Regions from separate parts of the Homo sapiens genome. Here region 1 is linked to region 2. The links are contacts of gene promoters, found by promoter capture Hi-C in human tissues and cell types (Jung and others, 2019). All regions are on one chromosome and are shown on one strand. The core of a region is centred on a gene start or on the middle of the fragment in contact, and the rest is flanking DNA. Distances in the headings are between cores, read along the strand shown.

Region 1 (4,116 bases), core at 677-3,176, 300 kb before region 2:
CCATGTTAGCCAGGATGGTCTTGATATCCTGTCCTCGTGATCTGCCTGCCTCGGCCTCTCAAAGTGCTGGGATTTGTCACCAACTTTCTGTTAAACATTATAGCTGATCTTGGTATGTCCTTATCTGTGGCTTGGCTCTGCTACTTCCCTCCTGTGTGACTTTGGGCTGCTTAACCTTAATGTGCCTGTTGCCTCATCTCAGCTGCAAAATGGGCTTAAAAGTAGTGCCTACATTGAGGTGCTGGGGATGGTGCCAGGCATTCATTCGATAACTAATAAATGTTAGTTCTCGTGATTACCAGTAGACGTGTATGCCTGTGTGCACTGACAGGAAGAAGCTATAGAAAAACCACTTAAATAGTTATATTAGGAAGAAGATGTCATTTTTTTTTCTTTTTTTGAGATGGAGTTTCACTCTTGTCACCCAGATTGGAGTGCAATGTCACGGGATCTCAGCTCACTGCAAACTCTGCCTCCCGGGTTCAAGCGATTCTCCTGCCTCAGCCTCCCAAGTAGCTGAGATTACTGGCATGTGCCACCACGCCCAGCTAATTTTTTTGTATTATTAGTAGAGATGGGGTTTCACCATGTTGGCCAGGATAGTCTCAAACTCCTGACATCGGGTGATCCACCCGCCTCGGCCTCCCAAAGTGCTGGGATTATAGGAGTGAGCCACCACACCCGGCTGAAGATGTCGTTCTTCACATTTCTTTCAATGCCATTGTTACAACTTTTAAAAATGTTCACTGTCTCCCATGACTCCCCTTCATTATGTGGAGAATAAAGTCCAGATTCCTTAACCCACATCTAAGGCCCTCTCTGATTCATCAACCCACACTTCAATCGTGGAAAGTGGCTAAGAACCCATGGAGGCAGGCTGCCGTGGCTTGAGTCCCAGCTCTGCAGCTTTCCTGGCTGTGTGAGCTTGGGTAAGGAAGTTTACCCCTCTGGGCCTGGGTTTTCTCAGCTGTAAAATACAGAAAGTAACAGCACTCACATGACAGGCTGAGGCGACGTGACTGTAAATAGCCTGGCACAGTGTCCCTCGTGTGGAGAAGGTGAAGCAACAGCCATGATCATTATCCACCTACTCCTCTGAGACCTCTGGTCACCCTGGAACATCCGCCGGCCCCAGAACATAGCAGGCCTGGCACTGTCCCACCCCAAGGTGTTTGCACGCGCCCTGCTCTCACCCAGCACACCTTCCCCTATCCATCCACCCATCAAAGCACCCCGGGCCAAGGCCCAGCTCCAGGGGCATCCCCTCTGACTTCCTGTCCCCACCAGTCCCCCTCGGGCCTTTGTGCAGGCCGGTACACTTACACACCTCACCCCCATCAACTCTGTCCCTCCTGCCGCGTCACACCCTTCCTGAGGATGTGGGAAGCTGGGCCTGGCTCTGAGTTCCAGCCCTGAGATCCAACACAGATGCCTGAGGGACCTGCCAGCCTTCAAAACAATTCAGTCATCAAATGGAGTCCAACAGCCCAGAAGGGTGGCTGTGAAGATAAACAGGAAAACACTAGTCAAGGCCCTTTTCTCCTTCCCGCCTCCTCATGAGCCCGGTCCACCTCCCACCGGGACCAGCTGAGAGGTAGGAGGAAGCACTGGACGCGGTGACATTGATGGCCTCCAGATGCCGACACGAGAGGGATTTCTGATCTTGTTTACAACGGATTTGGAGGTGGCTAACTATCCTGAATTCCCACAAGTGAGTACAAACCCCGACCCCCATGGGGTGTTGTCCTGGACTGTTTTCTGTGGATGGGTGTTCCCAATTTCCTTTCTTTTTTTTCGTTTCTTTTCTTTTTTTTTAAATCTTTGAGACAGGGTCTTGCTCAGTTGCCCAGGCTGGAATGCAGTGGCACAATCTCAGCTCACTGCAGCCTCAACCTCCTGGGCTCAAGTGATCCTCCCACATTAGCCTCCAGCATATCTGGGACTGCAGGCACCCACCACCATGCCCAGCTAATTTTTTTTTTTTTTTTTTGAGACAGGGTCTCACTCTGTCTCCCACACTGGAGTGCAGTGGCACGATCTCAGCTCACTGCAACCTCTGTCTCCTGGGTTCAAGTGATTCTCCCGCCTCAGCCTCCCAAGTAGCTGGGAATACAGGTGTGCACCACCACACCCGGTTAATTTTTGTATTTTTACTAGAGACGAGGTTTTGCCATGTTGGCCAGACTGGTCTCAAACTCCTGATCTCAGGTGATCAGCCCACCTTGGCCTCCCAAAGTGCTGGGATTACAGGCATGAGCTGCCGTGCCCAGCCTTGCTTCCCTTATCATCTCTCCAGGGCTCCCTGTGTGAGGGGCCTGGGACCCCTCAGCCACCACAAGCTTCAGAGGGGGAGTGCTGCCACCTAGGGGCAAAGAAGGAAACTGCCACAGCTTGGCCCAGGCCACCCGGACACGTTATGACAAAAACATTTATTGAGCACTTTCTGCGTGCCGGGCACCATGCCAAGCCCCTGGCGCACTTCATCATACTGGATCCCCAGGACAACCCTATGAGGTAGTAGTATCGTAAGCCCCATTGTACAGATGAGGAACACGGGGCTCAGAGAAGTGAAGTGACTTGCCCAAGGTCACACAGCAAGTGCATGGCAACTCTTGGATTTGAAGCCAGATCTGTCTCATAGCTGCAGTCTAGCCGTGACACCTGAGTGCCTCCTAAAAGCTACATCACAGAGCTGTCTGAGGATGCTGTGGGGAACCGTCTGTGAAAAGGTGCAACACGTAAACTCCGAAGAGTTTATGGCAGGCCTCCTGAAGAACAGCAGACTAGAGGCTACCCAGAGGCAGCCTGGAGACAGAGTGGGGAGGAATGCCCTGTCTCCTCTCCCAGGGGCCCCGACCACCAGCCTAGACCAGCGGGACTCTGGGCTGCTCAGGCTTCAGCCATCTCTCTCCTGCCACCATGGCTCTGCCCAGAAACCGTGGATGGCCCTGCCCCCAACCCTAGAATGTTGCAGGGCTTTCCGGCAGGAGAGGGGCACAGGAGGGCGACCATGGGCTGAGGTTTCTGAATGACATTCAGCAGGATTTCTGCCAATGGCTCGATGGCTCGCTTCCACTGGTAAGGATCACCGGTCTGCCCCCAGGGGCCCTGGACCCAAACAGGAGCATCAGGCCTGCCCAGGAAACAGACACCTCAGGTCCGTCACTCGGAGGCCTGGATGTAGACGGGCACAGCGAGCATGGCACATGGGCCCTCGGCCCCAGCCTGCAGCTCCGCCAGAGCCAGGTTGGAGCCCAGCCCCTCAGCGTGTCCAGGTACCACCAGCTCAGTTTCCGCGCCCACCGCACCACCCACAACGATGGACAGCACCGCGTCCGGCTCTGCGAAGGGCGGCTTGCCGGGGACAGCCTCGGGCACCAGCCCAGCCCCTGTGTCCTTCAGCTCCTCCAGCCCCAGCGGGTCAGGCAAGGGGGTCAGCACCTTGCGCCCACCACTGCCGCAACTGCGGGGGGCTGCCCTCCTCTGGGGGGGCCGCCGGGTTTGCAGGTCCTTGTCCTTTTGGGGGCCGAGACGACAGCGGTGATCTTTGAGGTATTTGTGGCGGGAAAAGCCCTTGGCGCAGCCAGCACAGCGGAACTTGTAGTTGCCCGTGTGGGCGCGCTGATGCTCGGCGAGGTGGGCACGGCGGCTGAAGGACTTGCTGCACAGGGCGCATTTGTGGAGCTTCATGCCTGGAGGGCAAGGGAAAGTCAGTGAGAAGCATCCAGACCTTCACCCCGCAACAGTGCCCTGCGCTGGGAATAAAATCCAGGCTCTTTCCCCACCAGCACCTGTGTGATCTGGCCCCAGCTCTCTCCACCCTCGTCGTCTGCCTTCTTCCAGCCACTCTCTGCGCCAGCCACACTCGCTCTCCTCAGAGATGCCACGCTGGCTCCTCCCTCTGCGCCTTTGTACTTGCCATTCTCCTCTGCCTGGAACAGCTGCTCACTCTCTGCACCTTGGCTCGCTTTGCCAGGTCATCTCAGGCTCAGGGAGGGGCCGTGACGCCTGAGGCCACCCACAGGAACATGGCAGCACTAAGACTCCAACCCAGCCCTGTGTGTCCAAGTCATTGACCTACTCTCCCAGTTTTCACACTTTCTTTAGTGACTGACT
Region 2 (4,389 bases), core at 1,487-3,986:
TCTCTTAGAAACACTAAAAAAGGCCAGGCAAAGTGGCTCATGACTTTAATCCCAGCAATTTGGATGGCTGAGGAAGGAGGATTACTCAAGCCCAGGACTTCCGGACTAGCATGGGCAACAAAGCAAGACCCCATCTCTACAAAAAATAAAAAAATTAGCTGGGTGTGGTGGCGCCTGGAGTCCCAGCTACTCAAGTGGCTGAGGCAGGAGAATCACTTGAACCCAGGAGGTTGAGGCTGCTGTGGGCCATGATGACGCCACTGCACTCCAGTCTGGGTGACAGAGAGAGACTGTCTCAAAAAAAGGAAAAAAGAAAACAAAAATGTAGTTACGTAACAGAAGCAAAAGTTGTGCTTTTGGGCATATTTTAAACTAAATACTACACAAAAGAAATTTGGACACAATCTTTTTTTTTTAAGTGAAAGCAAGTTTATTATGGAAGTAAAGAAACAAAGGAAGACTACTTCATAGGCAGAAGAGCCCCCCAATTTTTTCAAATAAAAAGTCCTTTCTGGTCAGGCTTGGTGACTCACGCTCGTAATCCCAGCACTTTGGGAGGCTGAGGTGGGTGAATTACCTGAGGTCAGGGGTTCGAGACCAGCCTGACCAATATGGTGAAACCCTGTCTCTACTAAAAATATAAAAATTAAGGCCGGGCGCAGTGGCTCATGCCTCTAATCCCAGCACTTTGAGAGGCTGAGGCAGATGGATCCCCTGAGTTCAGGAGTTCACGACCAGCCTGGCCAACATGGTAAAACCGTCTCTACTAAAAATGCAAAAAATTAGTCAGGTGTGGTGGCAGGCGCCTGTAATCGCAGCTACTCTGGAGGCTGATGCAGGAGAATCGCTTGAACCTGGGGCGGGGGGAGGTTGCAGTGAGCCGATATTGTACTACTGCACTCCAGCCTGGGCAACAAGAACAAAACTCCGTCTCAAAAAAAATAATAAAATAAAATAAAATAATTGGCCGAGCGTGGTGGCATATGCCTGTAGTCCCAGCTACTCCGGAGGCTGAGACAGGAGAATAGCTTGAACCCAGGAGACGGAGGTTGCAGTGAGCCAAGATCACACCCCTGCACTCCAGTCTGGGCGACAGAGCAAGATTCCGTCTCAAAAAAAAAAAAGCCTTTCATTTTACAGAGATGCTGTACCTTTGCAAGCCTAAAAGAGTAATCACTATCCGCCTCTTTAGTTGGAAATTTCATGAGGAATGGATCAAACCATCAAAAGCAGTAACTGCAAGCTGGGTGTATCTACTTTTTCTATCTTCAATCCAACATTTAATGGGTGCAAAAAAAAAGAAGCGTAAAGCCTCCCTTTCACGTGTTTAAGGACATCAGCTCTGAGACTAGTACTCAGAGTACCTTCTGTTACTCAGTTTCATCCTCTGCAAAATGGGCATCCTCAAATAATGTCTTACTTAGGATGTCATCAAGATTAAACAATTAAAAAAACATGCAAAACATGTTTATCTGTTTCCTCATTTACTATGTCTCTCCCTCTCCTAACTAAACTCAAAACCCCAGTTCGGTCTATCTTGTTTATTGTATTCCCAGGGCCTGGAATGGTATTTTTAAACTTACTATATGATTTAATAAATATTAAGTGAATAGAATGCAAAATGTCTGGTGCTCAAAAAAATGTTGGCTATTATAATTACAATAATGAAAAACAATTAAAATTTTATTGTTCTTATTCAGAGAAGCCACCCCTCCCCCAAGGATCTCACACATCAAGGAGGAACACTAGATAAATACTGGAATGGCTAAATGGAAGTAAGAATAACAATTAGATCATGGAGCAGGACTAACAGACAACAAAACAAAATCTTAACACGGCTAGAGCCTAATTTCGGACTTTTCCGAGTGCGGTGCACACTGGATCAGATTAATAAAGGACGATTACAATAATGACAGTTTTCACAATTGTGTGTGTGCCACGGTCGGTGTCAAGCGTTTTACTGGCCTCACAAAACCCAAGAACCCTGGGGGAGGGAGGGAACCCGCTCCACATCCCCATTTTGCAGATGGGGGAACTGAGGCACCGGGAGAGCCAAGGTCACTACCTAAATGGGGAAGCCTGGATGTGAACCCAGGTAGCCAACTACTGAGCCTGCGCTCAAACAGGCCCTCCGAGGGGCCATTCTCATCTCCTCCAACCCTCAACATCGGGCGGGTGTAGTATTTCCCCAGGAGCCGGACTTCGTGGCCCCAGCGCTGGGACAACAAAATGATTCTTGCCCGCCGGCAAGTCCCATGGACGCCGGCCCGGCCTAAGTTCCGAGGCCGCGGGCCCCACAATTTCCCTCACACCGTGAGCCCCGAGCTCTTCGGGCGGCGCAGGAAGCGACGGGGTGGCCTCAGGAGCCCGGGAAGGCCCGCCCCGCTGCGTGACCTTGGATCCGCCGCCCCGCTTCGGGCCTCAGTTTCCACTCCCGGCCTCGCGCCCGGGGCACTCGGAATCACCGCGCCTGCGGAGCCGCAGGCCCTCACACGCCCCCCTCGGCCGCCCGCATTCACGCCCCACTTACGCTGGAAGGCGGCCGCTCCAGGGACGCCTACCATCGCCGAGCGCCGCCGCCGCGCGCCGCCCGCCTCTACCCGCGACACGGGTCCCTCGCAGGCGCCGCCCGCCTCGACCCGCGGCCCGGGTCCCTCGCAGGCGTCGCCGCGAGATCTGCAGCCGCCGAGCTAACCAGACACCACCACCGCTGCTGTCGCCGTCGCCGCCGCCGCCGCCGCCGTTAGGCCGCGCCCCGCCCCGCCCCCGGCTGGCCCCGCCCCGCCCGCCGGGCACGCCCCCGCCGCGCGCTCTCGCCGCCAGGCCAACGCACGCGGAAGCCCGGCCCCAAGACCAGCTCCCATTAAGCACCGCCCCCTAACCTGACCCGCCCCTTCCGCGGGAACCGACCGCCGAATCCCGGCGCAGCCTGCTTCTCAGACCTGCCCCCTCGGCGTCACGCGCGCCCGTCACGCGCACGGCCCACTTTCTAGCTCCAGACTTCCCGGTGTAGCCAGGGCAGTGGCCCAGGCTCGGGGGCCGAGTGCTAGGGGGAGGGATTACAACGAGTGGCAACGTCTCACCTGAGTTCTCCAGGTACAGGCCTGATGGCTTTTGCGCATGCCTTTGAGCGAGCCCCCTGGCTCAAAGTGTTTTTGGCCTGAAGTATTCTAAATGCCTAAAATTTCATCATCGTAATTTTAATAACTGTTGGCCGGGCGTGGTGGCCCACGCCTGTAATCCTAGTACTTTGGGAGGCCAAAGGAGAGTCACTTGAGCTCAGGAGTTTGAGACTAGCGTCTCTATTAAAAAAATAAATAAATAAAAATAAAAAATAGACCAGGCACGGTGGCTCAGGCCTATAATCCTAACACTTTGGGAGGCCGAGGAGGGTGGATTACCTGAGGTCAGAACTTCGAGGCTAGTCTGGCCAATGTGGCGAAACGCTGTCTCTACTAAAAATACAAAACTTAGAGCCGGGCGCAGTGGCTCAAGCCTGTAATCCTAGCACTTTGGGAGGCCGAGGCGGGAGGATCACGAGGTCAGGAGTTTGAAGACCAGTCTGGCCTATAAGGTGAAACCCTATCTCTACTAAAAAAATAAATAAATAAAAATACAAAAATTAGCCTGGTGCGGTGGCGCGTGCCTTTAGTCCCAGCTACTCGGGAGGCTGGGGCAGGAGAATCACTTGAATCCGGGAGGGGGAGGTTGCAGTGAGCCGAGATCGGAGCCATTGCACTCCAGCCTGAGCAAAAAGAGCAAAACTCCGTATCAAAAAAACAAAACAAGGCCAGGAGCTGTGGCTCACCCCTGTAATCCCAGCACTTTGGGACGCCGAAGCTGGCAGATCACAGCTCAGGATTTGGAGACCAGCCTGACCAACGTGGTGAAACCCCGTCTGTACTAAAAATACAAAAATTAGCTGGACTTGGTTTCACAAGCCTGTAATCCCAGCTAATCAGGAGGCTGAGACAGGAGAATTGCTTGAACCCCGGAGGCGGAGGTTGCACCGAGCCAAGATCACGACACTGCACTCCCACCTGGGTGACAGAGCGAGACTCCCTCTCAAAAAACAAAACAAAACAAAACAAAAAAATTAGCTGGGCGCGGTGGCGGGTGTCCATAATCCCAGCTACTCGGGAGGCTGAGGCAGGAGAGTCGCTTGAACCTGGGAGGCAGAGGTTGCAGTGAACCGAAATCGCGCCACTACACTCTAGCCTGGGCAACAGAGGGAAGCTCCGTCTGAAAAGAAAAGAAAAGAATAAAGACTCTTGTTTCTCAGTATTATTTCAGATATCTCACACCAAGAATATAGAATGCATTTGTATTTTACTTGTGTATTGAAAACAAATTTTAAAAGACAGAATGTAGGCCGGCCGGGTACAGTGG

Evidence for each region. The method cuts DNA at HindIII sites, captures the fragments that hold promoters and counts their contacts. A contact is called where the count stands out against the background at its distance.
Region 1: a contact is called between a fragment that was not itself captured here and the fragment with the promoter of CBFA2T2 in region 2, in 2 of the 25 tissues and cell types used here (H1 embryonic stem cells and pancreas).

Annotation. Positions count from the first base shown.
Region 1 is chr20:33,790,564-33,794,679 of GRCh38, reverse strand. ZNF341 (zinc finger protein 341) reads right to left here. Exons shown (of 15, transcript NM_001282933.2): 15 at 2,411-3,692. The coding sequence ends at 3,163. All of the region lies in intron 3 of ZNF341-AS1 (ZNF341 antisense RNA 1), which reads left to right. Among named protein-coding and RNA genes, the nearest start is that of ZNF341-AS1, 18 kb to the left of the region's middle. RefSeq lists an enhancer at 2,243-2,537. The HindIII fragment of the contact is 6,106 bases long and covers 1-4,116 here.
Region 2 is chr20:33,488,443-33,492,831 of GRCh38, reverse strand. CBFA2T2 (CBFA2/RUNX1 partner transcriptional co-repressor 2) reads right to left here and starts at 2,736. Exons shown (of 11, transcript NM_001032999.3): 1 at 2,531-2,736. The coding sequence starts at 2,564. RefSeq lists silencers at 2,417-2,696, 2,707-2,926 and an enhancer at 3,021-3,569. The HindIII fragment of the contact is 17,917 bases long and covers 1-4,389 here.